Regions from separate parts of the Homo sapiens genome. Here all the other regions are linked to region 2. The links are contacts of gene promoters, found by promoter capture Hi-C in human tissues and cell types (Jung and others, 2019). All regions are on one chromosome and are shown on one strand. The core of a region is centred on a gene start or on the middle of the fragment in contact, and the rest is flanking DNA. Distances in the headings are between cores, read along the strand shown. Region 1 overlaps RELN (reelin). Region 2 holds the start of RELN (reelin). Region 3 has its middle 46 kb from the start of RELN.

What was found. The method cuts DNA at HindIII sites, captures the fragments that hold promoters and counts their contacts. A contact is called where the count stands out against the background at its distance.
Region 1: a fragment that was not itself captured here is called in contact with the fragment with the promoter of RELN in region 2 in 6 of the 25 tissues and cell types used here (bladder, heart left ventricle, hippocampus and 3 more).
Region 3: a contact is called between a fragment that was not itself captured here and the fragment with the promoter of RELN in region 2, in 2 of the 25 tissues and cell types used here (pancreas and thymus).

The regions. Positions count from the first base shown.
Region 1 is chr7:103,945,111-103,947,818 of GRCh38, forward strand. All of the region lies in intron 1 of RELN (reelin), which reads right to left. Among named protein-coding and RNA genes, the nearest start is that of RELN, 43 kb to the right of the region's middle. The HindIII fragment of the contact is 3,688 bases long and covers 1-2,708 here.
Region 2 is chr7:103,988,048-103,991,020 of GRCh38, forward strand. It overlaps RELN (reelin), which reads right to left and starts at 1,611. Exons shown (of 65, transcript NM_005045.4): 1 at 1,084-1,611. The coding sequence starts at 1,309. The HindIII fragment of the contact is 8,012 bases long and covers 1-2,973 here.
Region 3 is chr7:104,034,371-104,037,070 of GRCh38, forward strand. No RefSeq gene overlaps it. Among named protein-coding and RNA genes, the nearest start is that of RELN, 46 kb to the left of the region's middle. The HindIII fragment of the contact is 9,244 bases long and covers 1-2,700 here.

The sequences.
Region 1 (2,708 bases), core at 208-2,707, 43 kb before region 2:
GAAGCTACAAATAGCAAGAGTCTCTGAATTACATGGCAAATACTGGGAGCTCCCAGAGGGAGCTCTCAAAAGACCTACAAGGGGAAAGAACAGCAGAACAAAATTGACCAATTTGACAAAATTGACAAAATTCACCTAACCCAACCCCTGCCAAAGAAATCCTGTCATTTTATTCCCTTACCTAGGATCAGTCTTGACCATGAACACTCATAATCCATTATTACAGAGATTACACTCCTGATTCTCTAGGCCTCTCAGACACTTTCCAACAGCTGATCCTAATCTGTTAAGAAAACCAGTTCTCAACTGTAGTATTATTTTGGCCTTCATACCTGATTCAGTTTACCCCCTACCGAAGACAGACGAGCCTTCAGGCCTTCATGTATGGTCCCCCTCCCTGCAAAGAATGCTCTTCCTTCTAGCTGTTCCTCTGGCCAACAAGCCACATGATACTTCCTTTTCCTCAGGGAAGATTTCCCTAATCCCCGTAACCAGGTTACAAACTCCATTAAATATTCCCTCAAAACCTCACACTCCTCCTGCTTAGCACTTACCATACTGTAATTAAATAATTATTTGAGTACAATCAAGAGCCACGTAAAGACATTTTGGCCAGTGATGGACCTCATATACGGCAATGGTCCCCTAAGATGATAATACCATATTTTTACGGTACCTTTTCTACATTCAGGTATCTTTAGATACACAAACATTTACCATTATGTTACCATTGCCTCTGGTATTCAGTGCAGTAATATTCTGTGCAGGTTTTAGCTTAGGAGCAACAAGGCTGGACTGCACAGCCTAGGTGTCTCCTAGGCTGCACCATCTAAGTTTGTAAGTGCCGTACACTCTGATGTTCACAAAATGACAAAATTGCTAATGACACATTTCTCAGAATACATCCCCATTGTTAAGCAATGCATGGCTGTGATTACTTGTTCAATCTCTAAATCTCTCAAAAGACCAGAAGCTTCATAAAGCACTGACTGTGTTTGCCTTGTTCAGTGCTACTGTTTTCCCAGTGCTGAGCGCATAATAGGTGCTGAATAATATCTACTTAATGATAGTAGAACACCTAAAAATTGAAATCAATGTAAAGTTATCCTAAGGTACTTTTACTTACTAAAACTAATTAAAACTATTATTATTACTCACTTATTAAAACTATGCAAACTTAACCTCAACTACAACTTTTTAAGATAACTATGGCTTAAAATGTTTAACAGATAAACCTTTAATTTTTCATTCTGCTCTAGTTTATGAAACATTGAACAAAAAAAAGGTGAGAAGTTCAAATTAGTATTTACCTAAAATAAAACGAATCATTTTGTAAACTGGGTCTGTAATTTAAAATGGTAACTAAGTAGTTCTATAGTGACCATGGCTTCAGTTAAATAATATCCAATCAAGGCAAGATATGAGTATTAAACATTCATGAGCTGCTCAGAATATTATGAATTAATCAGCACTTCCTCATTTAAATGTTTAATATTTAATGCTAGTGCTTCTACAGTCTCTTGGAATTATTACACTTTACTATGTCTCTTACAACTGAATAACAATAGAGTTGCTATATACTTTCTTAGAATTCTGGTTATGGAATCCACAGTGATCTGTATGTTGGAGGAGAACGTGATTGTAATGCATTAAGCTTTTGATGAAATTCTTGACACATTTGTCTCAGATGCAAAAAGATAATAAAAAACACTCATGATAAGCAGAAGTAAGCGCTTTTGCAATGTGATTGCCTTTCATCCATGATGAATTATTTGTAGAAGCTTACTAAAAATCTGGTTTTCATGAACTCCCCTAGACAAATGTAAGTGGTATGCTAAAGGCATTTTAGGCAGTATAAAGTATTAGTGTCAGAATGTTAGTCTAGTAAATCTTCTAAACACTAGCTGTGGAAATAATAGGATAATATCCCCCCAAATGAATTCACCCATTCCGAGTCCTCTCAGCCATCTTAAAACTAATGTTGGCATTTAAAAACTAAACAACAGTCATAATGCTTTATTCTTACATATATCTCATCATTCAAAAGTCTCAAGGAAATCAACTGTGACTCATTATACCTTACAACATATTCAGTTCTTTTAACCCTAGCAGGGAAGTACTTTTGTGCACCAGATACAAAACAGTGGTGACTGTAACAGGTTGAATCATGGTTCCCTTCAAAGTAATCATTTGCTTAAGTCCTAATCCTCAATACTCAGAATGTGATGTTATTTGGAGATAGGGTCTTTACAGAGGTAAACACGTTAAAGTGAGATCATTAGGGTGGATCCTAATTCAATAAGACTGATATCCCTACAAAAAGACAAATGTTAGATCTAATGACAGACATGCATAAAAGGAATGCAATATGAAGAAACATATGGAAAAGATAGCCATCTACAAGCCAAGGAAAAAGGCCTGGAATAGATCATTCTCTCATTTATTGTCTCACAGCTCTAGAAGAAATCTGCCTGGGGATTTCAGACTTCTATCCTCTAGAGCTGTGAGACAATAAATTTCTGTTATTTAAGCCACCCAGTTTGTAGTACTTTGTTACAGCAGTCCCAGCAAGTAAATACAGTAACATAGTAAAATGTTGTGTGTTACAACAGAAATATTCCATTCATAAAATATAAAAATTATATTTCCCAGTGCAGCTGCAATCTGACTCTAGTGCATATGTAAATGAGAAATTATCATATATTAAA
Region 2 (2,973 bases), core at 361-2,860:
TGATTGTTAGCCTATTAGAGATAGAAACTATTAACAGGAGCCTACTGGACAATGGTTTCTATTTGGTTGGGTATAAATATTTTGGGGTTGAAATTCTAATTAAATAGTGCCTGTCGCTGCTTAAAAGCTCTATAGGCATGAAATGTTCAGAAGTCCCAGAAGAAATACAGAAAAGAGACATTTTTTATTTTTCCACATACTCGATGTACTAGCTTAAAATACATGTACTACATAATATTATATTTCTTGGAGCTAAATTTTATTTCTTCTGTAATGTTTATTTTTGATGCAGGGCTGCATAATGATTCCATTTTTAAGATACCTCTAAATTATAAGGGATTCCAGCCTCTACCTGGAAATTAAAGCTGTGCAGATAAAATACAAAGTCATTAATAAACATCACAAAGATAATTCTAACAAGAAGCACCATGTAAAAGTAAGGCAGGAATCAGAAAAATCATCAATTACTGACATATTAAATCACACTTTCAAAAGAATAGGGAGCTGGAAGCAGCCGCTCCCTTTCAGGAGGGCTGTATGACACTGAATGAAATGCCAGGGACTCCTGGCTGGTGAGCAGCGGGAACTTTGCGGTCGAGCGGCGCGGGGCAGCCACAGACCTGGGCGCTTCAATCTGTCACCAGCCTGCCCGCAAAGCCCAGCGACAGCCCCCAACGCCCCCCCGGGGACCCATCTGGGGGGACCGGGAGCAGGACAAAGGTCTGAAATCCAAGTCCTAGGAGTAAAGAAACAAAATGCGCAGGTTCAATTTAAAGTGCCTGCGGTAAGTACGGGGAGTGAGGGGGAAAGACACCGGCCTCCAAGAATTCTCAGGCGTTTAGCACAAGCACCAGCTCATTACCAGGAGATGCGTTCGGGGAGTGGGGACATGGAGAATGAATCCCAACTTGTGACTCCATTCTCCACTAACTTTATTCTCGCTCCCTGGACCAAGCGCATCGCTGGGGCCAGGGTTGTCATGGTTCTTGTTTCCAAGGCCCCTTGGAAGAAGGAAAGGGATGAGAAAGGTGCGCTGGCGGGCGCACCCGGCGGCGGCGAGCGCGGAGGTGCTGCGGTACCTACCATGGTATTCTTGTCCCGGAACGTAGTAGGTGGGGTTGCCCGCAATATGCAGGGAAATGAGCACCTCGCCCTGCTCCCCATCCCCTTCCAGCTCCCCGTGGTGGGTGCACAGGAAAAAGAAGGGCGAAAAGCGGGGGTAATAGCCAGCCGCCGCGCGCGCCCTCAGCGTCGCCCCCAGCAACAGCGCTAGGAGGAAAGTCTGCCGGGCCCAGCCACTGCGCTCCATGCCGCCGCCGCCGCCGCCGCCGCCGCGCGCCCTACGCGCCGCTCGCTCATTCAGTTTTGGAGACGCCGGGACGGAGGAGCCACGCGGAGAGAAGGCGAGAAGAAGGCGGACGGGAGCGGAACGGGCTCGGGAGCGGGCCTGGGAGCGGGCCCCCGCCGAGAAGTTCCGCGGGAGACGGCGGCTCCCAAAGTTACTTTGGGCCGCGGGAGCGCGGGACCGGGGCTGCGGGCGCCGAGAGCGCGTCGTCTGCCGCCTCCGTGCGCCGCCGCCGCCTCTGCGCGACGCCCCTCGGCCAGGCCTGGGAAAGCGCCCGCCCCGCTCCACACCTTCTTAAAGCCCCGGGCGCCGCGTCCCCCCCGCCGCCGCCACACGTGTCCCGGCCGCTCCCCCGCCCCCGCGCGCCGCCCCGCCCGCCCCCCGCCCTCTCGGGCTGGCTCGGCGGCACCTCGCGCGGCGAGGGGCGCACGCGTCCCCGGAGTCCCCGGCCAGCGCCCGGTTCGCACCCGGGAGGACAGGGAGGGGCGCCCGCCGGGGAGCGGGACGGGGACGCTGTCGAGGACCGCTGAGCCCGCGACTCTTCTGCGAGGGACGTCAAAGCCCCGCAGAGGGCACCTCCCGTCCAGCTGTCTGAAGGGGAAGGCCAGCCCCTTTGGCCGTCAGTGTGCCCTGTTTTTCCTGGGAGGATGCGTGAGGGAAGGAGAGGGGCGGCAGGGACGGCCGCTGGCGCCGGTTTCTTTGTCTGAGCCGGCTGCGTCCCGCGCCCCTCGGGGCTCGCAGTCTGCCAGTCCGGGCGGCCCGCACTCGTTCTGGGAATCCGCCCGAGGCCGCGAACCGCTAGGGGCCCTCGCGCTCCCTTCCCACCCAGGCCCCCTGTCCCTCCCGCCGCGGCCGCCCGGCCCCTCGCGGCAGCGACAGAGCCTCATCTGTAGAGGATTTTAAAATGAGATTAAGCGAAAGTGGAATTGGCAGACTCGAGTGGTGCCTGGAAATGGTGATTTGTGCTGCTCGGTTGTGGGGAATTGTAAGGCAGGAAGGGCTGGCGGAGCTAAGATCCGACAGGCTCTCTTCGCCGGACTGTTCTGTTATTCATTGCTTCTGGGCTCTTCAGGCAGAGATGGGTGTTGTAATTTTTTAAATCAGTGTTTATTTCCTTTAAATGTCGGTTATGACCAATGGCCCTGAAATCGGGGGAGGGAAAAACGTTCAGGGGAGATGCTGGCAGCGGTGATTGAAGCGGGTGGTAATGAGCGGCTGCACATGAACTGCAGGGAAGTGAAATAATCCATAAGCACGTTTTTAACCGAGGACGGCTGGCAGGAGCCCTGCGGCATCCGGAGATGGGGGAGCGGGGTTGCCAGGTTTTAATGCCTCTCCCCACCCACCCTTGGCTTGCCACCAAGCCAGATAAACCCGCACGTACAGAAATGAGTAGATTATAAAATTGGAAGGGATAGTGCCTTTGCCTGCATTTGTGGGGCGAGGGGCGGTGAAAATCAGGGTCCAAGGGGAGACCTCTGTAATCACTTCGTTGCAAAAGGAAGAAATTGTTTTTCTTCCTCTTACTGAGACCGAATGACAGGTAGAAAGGGCCCATTTCTAGCTGGCTTCTTGTTTCCCTTACTTCAAAATCCCCAGAGGCTTAACTGCCATATAAATAATATACA
Region 3 (2,700 bases), core at 26-2,525, 46 kb after region 2:
ATAAAATTAATCAGGGAAGAAGAGAGAGGGAGAAATGAAAATAAACCAAGTTTGCAGCACATTCAGCATTAATCATGAGGTGAGCTTGCTCTCTGACTACTTCCTCATAGTCTTTTGGTGCCTGTTACCTCAGAATCATGTAGATCCTATTACAAGATTAGAGTTCCCCTTAACTGCTCTATAGATAACAACTTGAACATTATTAAATGTTGTTTTCCCTTTGAGATATTGCTTTAGGACCTTCAGGTCCTGTATGCTGATGAAACTACTGACTCAGCTAGTCTGAAGAACCCCATGAGGAGCCAATTCACCAAAGAAAGCAGTTTCCACATCTTGATTATATCATCCCCCTTGCCCCGACCAATCAACAATCCCAATTTTCCAGCCCCTCACCTTCCATGATCCCCTTAAAAACCCTATCCCAGAACTCCTCAGGGAAATAGATTTGAGGGTCTCCTCCCATCCCCTGGCTCAGTGCCTGGCAATCACTAAACTCTTTCTCAGTTGCATCCCTGTTGTCTCAGTGCATTGGTCTGTTACTGCACAATGGACACACAAACCTGTTGGTTTTATAACAGTAGGATGATTAGATCTCAGGTATTTGCACTCCTATTTTATTTAACAGTCTAAAGCAGTGGTTCTCAGAGGTTAGCCTGCATTAGAATAACCTAGATAAATATAAAATGCAGAGGTGAAATGTAAGGTCTGGAAGCGCATGACTTTGACTTCAATACCAGCCTGCCACCTGACAGCTGTGTGACATTGGGGAAGTTGCTCAACTTCTGTGTGCCTCAGGTTCCTTATCCTAAAATGTTGCCAATAATAGCAACTTGGTCATTGGGTTGTTGTGAGGATTAAATGAGTTAATATTTGTAAAGTGCTTAGAAGTGTGCCTGGCACAGAAGAATTACTCAATAAACATTATCTTTCACCTGTCTGTCATTCTTTCTGGCTCTGAAAAAAGACTTTGATTCTGGGATTCAGTTTCAGTCAATATCAGTTATTGGTCTCAAATATATATTTGATGCTTGTGTCCCTGATAACATGTGTTAAGATGTGGCATTAGAAAAACGAGACAGCAAAAAACAGAGTTCATTCATTCCAGAGGCTCAAAGCCACAGTGAATGTCAGTTCATTGGTGAAAATGTCACTGGGTAAGTGTTCTTTCGCAAGCATCTTATCTGAATTACGGCAGTCCTAAAGAATGTCTAGTGATAAACCTTGTCATAGGCAGGTGATGTGTGAAGGATGCAAACGAGTTTCTTGGGGAGTTTTTTGAAAGCCCTTGGAAACAGTTCTTATTTTGGACATGAAAGCATGTGCCTCCTCTCCCCTTCATGTGTTTCTGGCCTTATTTTGTCTAGGTCTGGCAAAGGTGATTTCATCTCATTATCTACAACTTTCACACCTCCAGAGACTTGAATTCAGTTGCCTGTGATAGGGCCCTGGGATATGCATTTTGTTTTTTGTTGTTGGTTGTGGTTTTTTTGTTTTGCTTTTTGAAACGGAGGCTTGGTCTTTCACCAGGCTGGAGTGCAGTGGCGCGATCTCAGCTCACTGCAACCTCCACCTCCTGGGTTCAAGCGATTCTCCTGCCTCAGCCTCACAAGGGATATGCACTTTTAGCTCTAAATATACATATATAATTCCTCAGGTGATTTTGAAGTCAGTGGTCTAGAAACATGCACTTAAATACCGGCAACATTTTGCATACAATTTCAAAAGATTCAGAAACTCCTGCAGTGCACTTGTGCATTCTCAGGTTCAGAAGGAAGAGACACATATAAACAAAAATAATGTCAATCAAGACAGACCATGAAAAGGTCTATAAGAAAGGAATGGAAGGAAGGAAAATACCTTCTACTGGGAATGCTGTGTTTTTTTTGAGATGGGATCCTGCTCTCTTCTCCAGGCTGGGGTGGAGTGGTGTAATGATGGCTCACTGAAGCCTCAATCTCCTGGACCCTCCTAACTCAGCCTCCTGAATAACTAGGACCCCAGGCATTTGCTGCCATGCCTGGCTAATTTAAAAAAAAAAATTTGTAGAGGTGGGATCTTACTATGCTTCCCACTTTGGGCAACCCCTGGGCTCAAACCCCTGGGCTCAAGTAGTACTCCCACTTTGGCCTCCCAAGGTGTTGGGATTACAGGTGTGAGCCACTGCACCTGACTGGAACGTTTCTTGAGGAGGAAAGACCTGTTCTGGACCTTGAAGGTGAGGAAAGTCTAACATGGGGCTCTCAGGGCAGAGAGAGTATATTAAGTGAAGGCCCAAAAAGTGTGAAGGTGCAGGGAAACTTGAAAAATAGAGAAGCAGGCAAGAAAAATAGATATATTGGGAGTGAAGTCTGAATTGGATTCAAACTGAATCCTAAGTTTGAGGATCCCTGCAGGGCTTGCTTATGGAGAAAGGTGGCCTGAATGAAGGTTAGGAGGGAGGTCAGGGATAGAAACATGAATATCAGAGAGAGCCTTGCAAAGGCCATAGTGGAAATGCTGAACATTAGTAAGATTACCAATAAGAGAAAAAAACAAAAAGAGCAAAAGAAGAACCTTGAACAACCACATTAAAGTCCCAGGTTTTTCTTAGCTGTAGATAAAAAACAGCATCAAAGCCTGGGCACGGTGACTCATGCCTATAATCCCAGCACTTTAGGAGGCTGAGGTGGGCAGATCACGAGGTCAGGAGGTCAAGGCCAG